Linked DNA regions of Homo sapiens: regions 2 and 3 are each linked to region 1. The links are contacts of gene promoters, found by promoter capture Hi-C in human tissues and cell types (Jung and others, 2019). All regions are on one chromosome and are shown on one strand. Each heading gives the region's core, a stretch centred on a gene start or on the middle of the fragment in contact. The rest is flanking DNA. Distances are from core to core; before and after follow the strand shown. Region 1 holds the start of SCEL (sciellin). Region 2 overlaps SCEL (sciellin). Region 3 has its middle 44 kb from the start of SCEL.

Region 1 (4,530 bases), core at 1,447-3,946:
TACAAACCTCAACATATTCCTCCAGGAAGCCATCACCAATCAATTGGCATTTGTACCTGAGATAAAACCCATTTGGCATTTCAGCTTCTGAGCTTACAGTTCTAGAGAGATCTTAAGAACTCCAACACTGAAAGTGAATAGGTGTGGTGAAGCCAAGTTATTCCAAGCATGCCCAAGTCTTCCCAGTTAAACACCTGAGTGAAACTAATGCTCAGGCTATTTGGCTACCTCCACACCCGAAAACGTTCTTGATTCAACCTCTTCACATTTGAGATTTTAAATTTTAGGCAGTCATGTCTGCTCAGCATGAAGAGGTCTGAATTTTGCTCAATGGTTTAGAATTAGTCCCTTTTTATACTAGAGATTTGATTCTAAATGAAAAAACACTGGTTTGGCTTAGCAGTGTGGATGGTCTGATGTATAAAGTAAGAGAAACCCTTAATTGCATGCAGAAATAATTGCTTGGAAGCTCAAAATCCATAACTTGAGTAGCTGCACTTTACTTCATTATAAGATAAAAACTTATCTTTCTGGTTCTGTGTTTCATGAAGTAATATATTTCAACATTCTGTAATGTAAATTACAACTTATCCCTACAAGGGAGCTCTTAAACTGTTTTCTTTCTTTTTGGCTAAGTTCTAAGGCTGAAGATTGCTTCTAGTTTATCTTTTGAGTTAAGTCACGTCTTTGTTTTTCAGCTTTATCATTTGTAATATTAATATTCAAACCAAGATTTTTGGGCATCACAGAAACTTAAAGCATATTTTAAAAATATTTTGCATGTATAAAATTCCATAAAAAAGCTGAGTAGACACGTATATATGTTTTACTTTGAAAGAACATTTTCCATTTTAGATTTTCAAATTCCTCAGCCCAGAATAAGGGAACATCAGGGAACATACAGGAAGTGGTCTCCCAGTCACAATGACCACATACTGCAATTGCCTTGCTCTTCAGTCTGGGTTTCTGCTTCTTGTTACAGTCATTTCAGTGGGCGTCACTCAGCTGCATTGTAGTTTTCAGGAGCAGTTGTTCAGGGGGGATTTGGTTCATTGCTGGTGTGACATATGAATGACGATCACCCAGGAAGTTCTGATGACGTGGCTTCTCTCAACAATGTTTGCTAAGCTTCTTTAAAGCCTCTTTGGCTCTTAGGGAAGGTGTGTTTCAAAACCTGTAACAGGAGTCCCCGCCTAGAATGGCTCTTCAGTGTTACTCCTTCCTCCCAGCGGAAGCAGCCTTTGTTTTTTGTTGGGTTTTTTTTGTTTTTTTTGTCTGTTTGTTTTGTTTTTTGAGATAGGGTCTCACTCTGTCACCCATACTGGAATGCGGTGGTGTGATCACAGCTCACTGTGGCTTGGTCCTCCCATGCTCAAGAGACTCTCTTTGCCTCAGCCTCCTGAGTAACTGGGACCAAAGACATGCACTACCACACCCAGCTGATTTTTTTATTTTTAGTAGAGATGAGATCTTCTCTTACTGTGTTGCCCAGTTTGTCTCGAACTTCTTGGCTCAAGTGATCCTCCCACCTTGGCCTCCCAAAGTGCAAGTGAAAGCCACTGCAACTGGCCAGAAGCAGCCTTTGATGTTGGGTCTACTGCTGCCCTCAGCATTGAAAGAAGTTTCAACCATCCTTTTCACATTTTTTTTTTTTTTCTGAGACAGTCTCACTCTGTTGCCTAGGCTAGAGTGCAGTGGTGTGATCTTGGCTCACTGTAACCTCCACTTCCCTGGTTCAAGTGATTCTCCTGCCTCCTCCTGCCAGAGTGGATGAATGGTTCTTCTTCTTCTTGACCATCTAATCATTGTCCACTCAGACTTTAAAACTCTGCATCAACATCACCTTCCAGGTTCTTCCTTCTCTCCACTATGCGATGCCTGGCATTGAAAATTTCTGTATATGACTTTATCATGGTGTGTTATAGTTATTTAATATAGCTGGGGTTACAGGTGTGTGCCATCACGCCCAGCTAATTTTTATATTTTTAGTAGAGATCAGGTTTTACCATGTTGGCCAGGCTGATCTTGAACTGCTGACCTCAGGTGATCCGCCTGCTTCCACCGCCCAAAGTCCTGGGATTACAGATGTGAGCCACCACGCCTGGCCCCTTTTCACATTTTTTTATACATGGATAAATAAGATAGAGATTAGAATTCTTACATGCTAGGTGTATTTTCCCTCTGATAGTTTTACAAAATAGTCTAGGTGTAGAATGTGTGGAACAGACTTCTTTTGTGTTTTCTAATCCTAGGGTTCCTGGGTTTCTGAGAATTTGTTTGTCTTGAAGATTCCTTTAAGCCATATACTCCTTGCATGCTTGTCTGTGCCCCTGCCTTCCAGGTACTATGGGTGTATGGGGGTTCCTTCTATCTTGAGTTTTCAATTTTATTTTTTGAAAGAGAATACAAAATAGGTTGGGTCCTATGCCACCTTGTCAGTGATATGGTTGTGCATACTGTTGATATCAGTTAAAAGGGTGATCACAGGAGCATATATATATATATGTTTTTTTTTTTTTTGCATAAGGCCATAAGTTAAACAAAGAATTCAAACAAAGACAGTAGGTATATGAGTGAGAATGCTTTAATTGAACTGGTATTTGTACAAGGTGACACCCTGTTGCATACCACACACCTCCTCCCTGAGTGACTCAGCCGCTGAGCAAGAAACCTCTGAACTGTTCACTAATACAGTCAGGTAGAGGTTGAGACTCCACTGAATAAACTCTAGGTTCCCATTTCTTTCAGCCAGATCCTCCCAGGGAATCACTACAGGCTGGTTAGCCAAAAAGTCCTGATTTTCTGCTCAATAGAGGTAAGTTGAATTATACTTGCAAACAGAAATACATCTGCTGTATGTGCACAGCTTTCTCTGTGTTCCTTACAAATGATTAAAATTAGAACTTACTGTATTATCTTTGTCTTTTCTTCCTGTAAATTTTGACAGCCTCCAGCTGGCTGTTAGCTCTGCTCTTCCTTGCTGTACTTTTAGGTCACATTGCATTGAACTTCTTGGCAATTTTACACGTTATGGGCATCACAGAAACGAGCACCTATTTGATTTTCTGGGTGGGAGCTGTCAGCTGGTGAATCCTGCCACACAAAGGATAATAAATTCTTTAAGTGAAGGGACCAGCACCTGCTGGTTTATTTTCTCAAGCGACTATACAAACATTTTTTAAAGGATCTTTCTGTTTTCATAAATGATGCTTTTAGTGAAATAGTGAACTCAAATATTGCTTTATAGTTAATAAGTCATATTTATTTTTTTCTCTACTGCTAAAAATATTGCAAGTTGCTGAGCTATGAGAGAGAGAGAGGTTTATATTTATGAGGTTTTTGTCTCCACCCTATCTTCCCCAAATAAGAAAATCACCATTTCTCACTTGAAAGTACCAAGGAGTAAAGGCAGGGTGTGGGAGCAGAATAAGGGTACATGGTTCCTCACAGGGATCTGTGGGCATCTGGCCAACTTCTCTATGGTATATTCTGCATTCTAACCTAAGGAGTGATTAATGTATATGGGGGCAATTTTCAAACTTTATTCATAGCCTAGTCCTGAAAAACCAGTTTTGGGAGACTTTTGATAAGGCTAGAAGAGTTCTTTTAACAGAGCTTTCTTTTATAATTAATAGCTAAGCTGACTTGTGTTTTTTCTCATCATTTCTATTTATGATACAGAGCTGTGGGATTCAAATGCAGGGGCCACTCACAGCTTGCAAATTGCAGCTCTGTGTCCTCCAGAGAGGTGCCCCCACAGCATACCTGGCTCTATCTGTAGTACTTGAGTTCTCATGGCTTCCTATTGCTGACAAGGTCACCTGCAGTCTGAGAGGGGGTTAGACACACCAGTGCTCATTTCCCAAAGGTTTACAGAAGAATTTTACAACTTGGCTTTCAAGTGTTTATAGTAACCAGAAAACTAAAGTGTAGCAAGTGTGGATAATTTTATTTTTCATAAAATGTGATTACATTTAAAACTGTCTTTCACTTCCATAGTTTATAACGTAGATAAAGCCTTCCTAATATATGTGGTGCTCCAGTGTTTAAAGTATTGGAAACATCAATTTGAGAAAACTGAGAAATGACAACAGTAAAAATTTTAGTAAAACATTCAGATGATCCTAAATGTCGGGATATGCATAGAATGCCAACAACAGGCCAGAATTTTTATTGGAATGTTAGCGTCGTATAAATCTTAGATCTAATTGACAGAATATTTCAACTGAAACGGAGCATAGGCCCATCTAGTCTAATGCCTGAATTTTCTAGTTGAGAAAATCAAAGCATAAATGTTAAGCAACTTGTGAAGATCAGAGTAGCAGAACCAGAGCACGATGCCAGATTGCTTGTCTTTTGTCTTACTGAATTTTCTCAATATTTTTTCAAATGCTTTTTATCATAAAATATGTAGTAGCAATAAATGAGCCACACTCCATCACAGACTGTGGTTACCCAGCACATGTGGAAATATTATAGTGTGTATGGTATGACTAAGACATAATAGAATACGTTTTCCAACTTGTGGCT
Region 2 (4,530 bases), core at 1,136-3,635, 61 kb after region 1:
CATATTTTATAAGAGCGAATCATACTCAGTTTTGTTTCCTGTTATTTGCATAAGTGTGTTACCTTCTCTATCATCTCTATAGTCTCTCAGGGCAGATATTTTGTCTTATTTGCCATTTACAGTGTGTGACATGATGCTTTGTACACAGTGTTTAATAGATTATGGTAAAATCATAATATTCCATTGTTTAAGTCCAAAGCTCTCAAAAATATTCCTTGTTTAATAGATTTTAGTAATGCTAAGAGTGTTGTTAGAGATTGCAGTCTCTGTCAAAAGAATTGAAGAGAAGAAAATGTGACACTTGGCTTTTCTGTGCAAATTCATAAACAAAATAGGAGCTCTGAATCCAGACAGAGTCTATAGAAATTGTCCTGAATGTTTCATTTCCATGTCTTCCCTCATTGAAGTGTCTAGATCTCTAATTTTATTGATTTATTTCTGTTGCAGGTAATATTTTGTTTCCAGTAGGGATTAGACAGTGGTTTGGTGGGTGATCGGGATATCTGAGAAACAGATAAGTGAGTGACTCTGAAGGGAAATTATGGTTTGGTGTAAATCAAATAAAAACTGTCAGAGAGGCAGTTAGTTTAACTTTCCTGTCCCTGCTCCCTAGCCATAATGCTCAAATTCCACAGCCAGGTACATTTATCACAGAGAGAAGTTGCTGCTTGACAGGGATCAGGAAAAATGTTCATGGTAGTCATCATAGAGTATTGTTTCTTTGGACCATCCACAGGGAGTAGAAATGGCTTTAGTTATCCGAGCTGCTCTTTGTGAAATGGAATGTTACTGCTATCTGATTAAGAGCATTTAATTTGTTACAAATGCAATGGTGAAACTTAATATCCAAAGCTTTCATCAATTTAAAGTCATTTTGAAAGCTTAAGTTTTTTATTTGGAATACAGTATCCATTTTATTTAATTTGCCACAGAGTGTCTTCTCATGATTTATGCTAATTTTCTTGGGATAAAGCAACTCCAAATCCTGATAATCTCATCATTGTGACTCATGCCAGTCAGGAAAGCCTGGGGCTAAAATTTATAGGACTCGTGGGTTTGCTCTTTCCCTTGGGGACATGAACAGATTGTTAGTCTCAGAGTTAGTGGGTAGAATATCAAGCAAGAAACAGTAATGGGTTACTGTGTCAAGGGACTGGGTAGTGTTTGTCACACACAAGGATAGAGCATTAATTTTTTTGTTGTTGTTAGAGGCAGCAACTTTTGTATTTCAGTATTTATTCTCAGGCAACAATTCTACCATTGATACCTAAAACTACTTGACAGGATTCACCTATGTACTGGCTGTTAATTTAGGGTCTCTAAGAGGACTACCCTCAGCAGCTATTCTTGCTATAGTGTCATCGTGCCAGGCATCTTCAAGCACATAAGTGACTTAGCAATTGCATCTCTCTCTAAAGGCTAAGTCGAAGTCTTGGTGTTTCTAAGTGCAATTAAAAAATAAGTATAGCAAGCATTTACTAGGTTGGGCGTGGTGGCTCACACCTGTAATCCCAGCACTTTGGGAGGCTGAGGTGGGCAGATCACCTGAGGTAAGGAGTTCAAGACCAGCTTGGCAAACATGGTGAAACCCCATCTCTACTAAAACTACAAAAATTAGCTGGGCATGGTGGTGCACACCTTTAGTCCCAGCTACTTGGGAGGCTGAGGCAGGAGAATTGCTTGAACCTGGGAGGCGGAGGTTGCAGTGAGCCAAGATCATGCCATTGAACTCCAGTTTGGGCAACAAGAGTGAAACTCTGTCTTAAAAAAAAAAAAGTATAGCAAGCATTTATTAAACAAAAAATTTAGTAATGACAGGGCATTATTTATTATAATGGCCCAAATTAATCAGGAATTTATGACTTGTTAGGCATTGTGCTAAATACTTTATATTCATGAGCTTATGAATCTTTTCTGAGGTGGGTATGATTAGTATTCTCATTTTACAAATGGGAAAATTAAGTCCACAGAAGGTTAGGTAACTCACCCAGATTCACCAATGAATAAGTGATGAGTCCTGGATCGTACTCCATGTGTCCTTAACAAGGAAACTTGAATGCGTAACTACTGATTTGTGAACAGAAAAACTTGCTGAGGAAGGCAAGAGAGGTGGGGCAAGGTGTGTGTGTGTGTGTGTGTGTGTGTGTGTGTGTGGTCGGGGGTAGGTCATGAATAGAAAAGTTGGAGAAAGGACATGCTGTGACAGGGAACTAGAGGAAGAAACCAATAGCACTGTGGTGAAACCCCCACCCCACCTCACCTAGGCTGCCTGCTTAGGGGAGAAAGTTGAACCCATGTGGTTTAAATAGAATTCCTGAACCTAAGTATTTAAATAGGTTGCTCCTGAAGCAGCAGCCAGAAAAGGCTTTGCAGTTGTCAAATGTGGAAACAGGCTAGCAAATTTAGCTGACCTGGAAATGAAGTAGCAGAGCTCAAGAAGGAAGCCAGACTTACTGATGAACAAATGTTTTCTAGAAGCTACGTGTGCAAGTACATTGCACAATGCTGTAATTAATCAGTGTACCTATGTGTGGACTCAATTAAAAGTGGGTATTAAGTATCTACTGTATGAACACTGTATTAAAACACAGAAGTGTGTCTGATGTAAAATACAGTTCTAAATTTTAAGTGGTGTGCATATGTGTGCCTGTGCTGAGGTAGGAGCATTAACATGAGACCAGTGTGCAATGGCTATAACTCAAAGTATAGTCACAGAACTGTCATAAAGCAGGTGCAGAAAAAACAAATGCTGCAAGGGCTCCAAAAATGTAGAGGACTCTATTCAGTTAGAGGACTAGGAAAGGCTTTCTGGAGAAAGTGGTGTTGGATGCGAGCTTTGAGGATCATCAGGATTTTCGCAGATGATAAAAGTGGGATGTGTTGTATTTCAGAGAACTGTCATTTTAAGGCAAATTTACCCTTTGACCCTGGGCAAGCTTTTTACTAATGTTAAACATTTTTTTCTCTTCCCAAAGTGAAGAATTGGATAATCTCATCAAAATGAACAAAAGCTTGAATAGGTAAGATTTTTAAATGTTTATCTTTTATTACTGAGTTGCATATTGTGACTTTTTATGCCTTTCCAGTCTTTGAGCGTGAGGACCCACATACCAGGGTAGTCAAAAATATCCTACAAATCTTGAATAAAAGCTTGCAGCAATCATCATCATTTCATTGTTATGATGAATGGTTATTAAAGTCTGAAGATACTAATATGAAAGTGTTCTTGATTTTCATACGCCATTTGTTTATTAAGGCAGTTATATAAATAACCACTTTTCTCTTCCTGAAATATTAATTAACTAAAATGTAAACAGAATTTGGTTTGATCATGGAATAATTTTAGTTTAACCATTACAAAAAACATTTTATTATCATAGTTAATGTTATATTGTTTATTATTATTTTTTGAGACAGAGTCTTACTCTCTTACCCAGGCTGGAGTGCAGTGGTGCAATCATAACTCACTGCAGCCTTGACCTCCTGGCCGCTAGCCATCCTCTTGCCTCAGCCTCCCAAGTAGCTGGGACTACAGGCCTGTGCCACCACGTGTGGCTAATTTTTAATTTTTTGTAGAGATGGGGTCTCACTATGTTGCCCAGGCTGTATCTTCTTGTTTTGAATCATTTATAATTGTATAACTTGAAATATGCCAAGAGAGAAAAATGAATAATCAAGGCTTGTGTTTGTGGTAAGTATAATGTAAGCAAGCTCTCTATTACTTTGCATACTAACCCACTAAACAGTGATCAAAGAGAAGGAGAAAACAGGGAAATGCCAAATGAATTCATTGATCAGAGGATCCCGAGATGTGTTTTTCCTATCCTGTTCTGGCAATAATGATCACTTAATCTGCTGCTCTTCAGTTTCCTCATTTACAAGGAGAGGAGGTTTTAGATCAGGAGTCACAGACTCCACGGCCCGCTGAGACCAGGCAGGTGTGAGTGGGTGAGGAGACTGACTGTGATAACTGCGGCCAAAAGGAGAGCAAATGCCCTGTCTGAGCACACAGCTGCTTCTCAGCTCAGCTCCAGCTGAGGGTCTCCACTGAGTCTAGTGTTGCAGGACAGCAGGGCATTCTCAGGAGATCCTGAAAATCCAGTTTTGTTGTTTGTTTGTTCATTCGTTTTAGAGACAGGGTCTCGCTCTGTCGCCCAGGCTGGAGTGCAGTGATACAATCATAGCTCACTGCAGCCTCCATTTCCTGGACTCAAGCAATCTTCCCACCTCAACCTCCCAAGTAGCTGGGACTACAGGCACCACCACCATGCCTGGCTAAGTTTTAATTTTTTTGTAGAGATGGGGTCAGACCATGTTGCCCAGGTTGGTCTCGGGCTCCTGGGATCAGGTGATCCTTCCACCTTGGCCTCCCAAAGTACTGGGATTACAGGCATAAGCCACTACACCTAGCCTGAAAATTCAGGTTTCTGTGTGTCCTGACCATCATTGTAACATGGGCTCACTTTAAAGCCCACGCTTGAAAGCTAAAAGGGTAGAAATGCTCCATGAATCCAAGTAACACCTCTATAG
Region 3 (4,530 bases), core at 1,023-3,522, 44 kb before region 1:
TGTTTCATTAGTCTATGTGTCTGTTTTTATGCCAGTATCATGATGTATTGATTACTATAGCTCTGTAGTGTAATTTGTGAAGTCAGGTAATGTGATTCCTTTCATTTTGTTGTTTTTTCTCAGGATAGCTTTGGTTATTCTGGGTCTTTTGTGGTTCTATGTAAATGGTTAGGATTTTTTTTTTCTGTTTCTGTGAAGAATGTCATCGATATTCTGATGGAGATGACATTCAATCTGTAGATTGCTTTGGGTGGTATAAACATTTTAACAATATTAATTCTTCCAATCCATGAATATGGAATAGCTTTCCATTTTTTTGTATCCTCTTCAGTTTTTTGCATCAGTGTTCGCTATTTCTCATTTTATTTTATAATCTGGGATATTAGTTCATTTATTAAGTGCACACGTATGTATCTGTGTGTTTACTGCTCTGCGGAAATACAAACTAGTATAAAACATACAAACTAGTATAAAACATGATCCTCTAGTTAGGGAGAATAGGCATAAATATATGAAAAGTTGAATATTTTACCAAGATGAGGCCTCACAAAATATTATATATATCTCAATTATCTTTTCAAGTAATAGCTTTCACTTTTTGAATTATCTTATCCACATAACTTACTTTTTAATTTCTGCAAGGGAAGGTTTTTACTTACGAGAAAAAACAAAGCTCGGAGAGATGAACTTGCCCAATGTCAAATAGAAAGTGAAGAAAGTGCACAAATTGAAACTGGGGCTGTCTGTATTCACAGACCTTATCATTTCTCATAAAGCCAGTATGATGGAGATTTACCAATTTCTTTTTTGCCATCCAGGTATCAGAACCCACTCTCTATGTTTGGGAAATGCTCTCCCTCTGATGCCATCCAGCTACTCACCTCTCCAGGGTTCTTGCTGTTAAGGCATGGGGCTGGGCTCTGCCAATCAGATCCATCTTCTCTCGAGACTATGAGAAACTGGGACACAAGGAAGCACACACCACCCAGAATATATTTGGACAACATTTGGGGGTGGAGGCGGCAACCATATTTGGTTCTCAAAGGCAGCAGTGGCAGTAGAGTTCCTGCAGCAGCACCCAGGGTCTGGTCACTGGCTGCTGGAAGGTGCTGTGCTGTCTGGGTCCAGCAGGAGTTCCAATGTCTTTACCTGATAAGTCTTGTGGTTTGACTGTGGGAATTGTTTCCAGCTGTAAAATCCATAAGTTTGCTTCTCTAGCCCTCCCAGAGAATATATGGGCTATCCAACATCTTTTAAATAGTTTCTGTTTCTGCTTTAATTAACCAGGGTCAGTTTCTATTATTTGCATCTAAAAGTCCTGACTGTGACTGAAAATTGTGCCAGAAGTTGTAGGCAACAGTTATTCAGGAAAACAGGAGGGAAACTGTACTTTATTCTCTGTCTTGGTAGGGTTTAAGGGGAATTGGAAATCAGGTTGATATTAAGAAACTGAACCTGAGCATCCATCGAAATTTGTGAAGAAAAAACAAAACAAAACAAAACAGTTAATCAAATGATCACTTGTGTCCACTCGGGTGATAGCCCCCTTGAATGCTAGGTTTGGGAGGAAAAATGTATGCTGCAAGAGAGTGGTTGAAGGGTGTGGAGGAATTCAAGGATTGTAGAGTTAAGCAATGGACACTTCAATGGCAGAAAATGACAAACTGAAAGTCTTCAACTCTCAGCTCAAGCCACCCACTGAAAACTAGTCTCTTTCTAAGATAGTGCTGAATTGGAACCCACACTCAAAGATTTATCCTCCAAGTTGCTTCTTTACATCAATGTATAACCTTTTCTAGCCTCTTAGATCAAAGTTGGGGCTCTGACATAGGGTATTAAGTAGGTGCCAACACAGGGTGGAGACGTGAGAGAAGTTGGGTTGCTCAGTGTGTAAATCTTCCCATGCCAGTGCACTGTCCTCCCCTGCAACCAAGGTAGGCATGTCCCAGAGCCTATTTTAAAGTCAAACTCCCCAAATTTACAAAATTTTGCTGCTATGTTTGCAAAAATCTGGCTGATGCACGTGGCAATAAATTCTGAGGATGTTGACTAAAGTGGGAGGACTGTGATTGAGATCAAGTACGATATGTCAATATATGTACCTGCACCTCATCTATATACAATCTAGGTGCGGGTACCTAGATTGTGACTAGGTTGAACACAATATTCAACTGGGGTTGATTGTAGTTACTTATTGTGGTCAACTGATGAAACTTGGACTCAGCGGTGGCCTAGATATTTGTGTTATACTATAAAGGAAGAAATGAAACAGATGTAGGAAAGTGGGAGGGAATTTTTTTGTGTGCCATCAATTTCTTAATTCTTAACTCTGGCTCCAAGGCCTTGTTGATGCATGCATTGAGAAATTCATTGGTGAAGAGAATTCCAGCATTAAAAAAATCCCTATAGAGGATGTTCTTTGTGGATCTAGAATGCAGTGAGAGGAGACACAGCTGAAATGAGCTCTCTGATTTCACTGGGATACTAGGATCCCAGAGTAGCAGAAGCCCCATAGCAGCACTTAAACATTGGACGCAAATGGGTCTGGGCAGATGTGGAGAAGGTGGAGGGGGAGTCAGTGTGTCGTCAAAATGGTCTAACCCTAGAAATCTTTGACATTTGCTAATCAGTCATTGGTGTCCTAGAAATAAATTATATGTACAACCCAGCAAGAGAATATTTGATTTCTAAAATAATACTAACACCAACCAAAACTCAAAGACTCTAGGTATGGCCATCAGGGACCTAAATTCAAACCACATAAGAAAGTGTTGGCCTTTTACCAATTTCCAAACTTAAATTTTCAGATACTAAAAGGATGCCTAGGTACTCTTGAAAAAGAACTCTGTGTTCATATCACATAAGCATATTTCTTCCAGCCTTCTGCAAAGGGACCTTCAGCTATTGGGATGACTGTGCATTGGGAAAGAGAAATGTCTAGACCTTTTAGGGGTAATACAACAGTTGCTCAGAGTTAAACTAGAATTAAGCTAGTTCCTGGGAATACCATTCATTCATCTGTTCATTCATTTGAACAATTTTTATTGATTGCCTACTGTGTGTCAGACACTGGGGACTGGTAATATTTTAGTGAACCAACCAACCAAAATTTTCTGCCTTAGTGGAGTGAAAATTTTAGAGGAAGAAAAATTAACAGGTGAAATATATGGTGTGTCAGGTAGTGATTTAATGTCCTGGCAAAAATAAATTAGGGGTGGGGTGAGGAGTGAGGAATTCTTCATTTCTCATGGAGCCAATTGGGATTAGAATAGAGGGAAATAGGGCTGGGATTCTTGTGGTGCCCAGTGTAGACATAGATTGAATAAATAATGTAGTAATACACAACACCAAATACATAAAGTAGTAAATGGAAAACAATTTTACTTGGCTGAAGGAACCAAAAATTTACCAGTAGGGACTTAAAAGATGCAAGGGTCGGCCAGGCGTGGTAGCTCACACCTGTAATCCCAGCACTTTGGGAGGCCGAGGCGGGCGGATCACGAGGTCAGGAGATCGAGACCATCCTGGCTAACACGGTGAAACCCTGTCTCTACTAAAAATACAAAAAATTAGCCAGGTGTGGTGGCGGGCGCCTGTAGTCCCAGCTACTCAGGAGGTTAGGCAGGAGAATGGTGTGAACACAGGAGACGGAGCTTGCAGTGAGCCAAGATCGTGCCACTGCACTCCAGCCTGGGCGACAGAGCGAGACTCCATCTCAAGAAACAAACAAACAAAAAAACAAAAACAAAAACAAAAGATGCAACGGTCTCCATTTAACTTCCCCATATGACTGATGCAGGAGGCAGATGCGTGTCAGAGAAAGAAGTATTTGTACTTCTAATATAGAAGCTTAAATCCTAATATAGGATTTAAACTAAGCATGCATTGTAGAGAAACTAGCTCATCATGGATGATCCGTAAATACTGCATTATATCCTTGAGTCCTCATCCCCATTGACACCATCAACCTTTGCACTGCTGATCTTGTTATTAATTTTAAAGCACTTAGCTGCTCAGCAGGTCTCCATGGAGTGGTGCTAGAGAGTCAAGTACTATTCAGTATCTGAATATTATCAGCTGTGAGCTTGATTGATGGTTATATTGTTTGTTTCATGAATGGCTTCCCTTTCTGCTTAGTTTTATCATCATTAATCAGTGGGGTAGCCTGCTGGGTGTTGGAATCTAAACCAAAATTAAAATCTGTTTATTCAGGATGGTTTCAGTGAATCATAGTACAGCAAGAGAAGAATGGTGCAAAGGCTTATCTTTCAGTACATTTGTTTCAGAAACCATTAGTTCAGTTATACGGAGTGTGTTCACTTTTAGCCTTGAGCTGGGTAACTTTGGATTTGATCCAGAGCATTAAAGTACAAAGAGAAAATTTCCTCCTATTTAATGCAGTACTTTGTTAATAACATGAAGAAAAATGATGTCAGTTCTCTTTTCTGGAATATATAGCCTGAATTATCCACATTAATTCTCTTTTATTTTTGTTGTAAAAAGTTTTTTCCTCTATTATAAAATAAACAT

Evidence for each region. The method cuts DNA at HindIII sites, captures the fragments that hold promoters and counts their contacts. A contact is called where the count stands out against the background at its distance.
Region 2: a contact is called between a fragment that was not itself captured here and the fragment with the promoter of SCEL in region 1, in 2 of the 25 tissues and cell types used here (lymphoblastoid cells and thymus).
Region 3: a contact is called between a fragment that was not itself captured here and the fragment with the promoter of SCEL in region 1, in 3 of the 25 tissues and cell types used here (lymphoblastoid cells, mesendoderm cells and stomach).

What each region holds. Positions count from the first base shown.
Region 1 is chr13:77,533,010-77,537,539 of GRCh38, forward strand. SCEL (sciellin) reads left to right here and starts at 2,697. Exons shown (of 33, transcript NM_144777.3): 1 at 2,697-2,815. The HindIII fragment of the contact is 8,761 bases long and covers 1-4,530 here.
Region 2 is chr13:77,594,570-77,599,099 of GRCh38, forward strand. It overlaps SCEL (sciellin), which reads left to right. Exons shown (of 33, transcript NM_144777.3): 13 at 2,976-3,020. Among named protein-coding and RNA genes, the nearest start is that of SCEL-AS1, 9.7 kb to the right of the region's middle. The HindIII fragment of the contact is 3,038 bases long and covers 867-3,904 here.
Region 3 is chr13:77,489,036-77,493,565 of GRCh38, forward strand. No RefSeq gene overlaps it. Among named protein-coding and RNA genes, the nearest start is that of SCEL, 44 kb to the right of the region's middle. The HindIII fragment of the contact is 6,349 bases long and covers 1-4,530 here.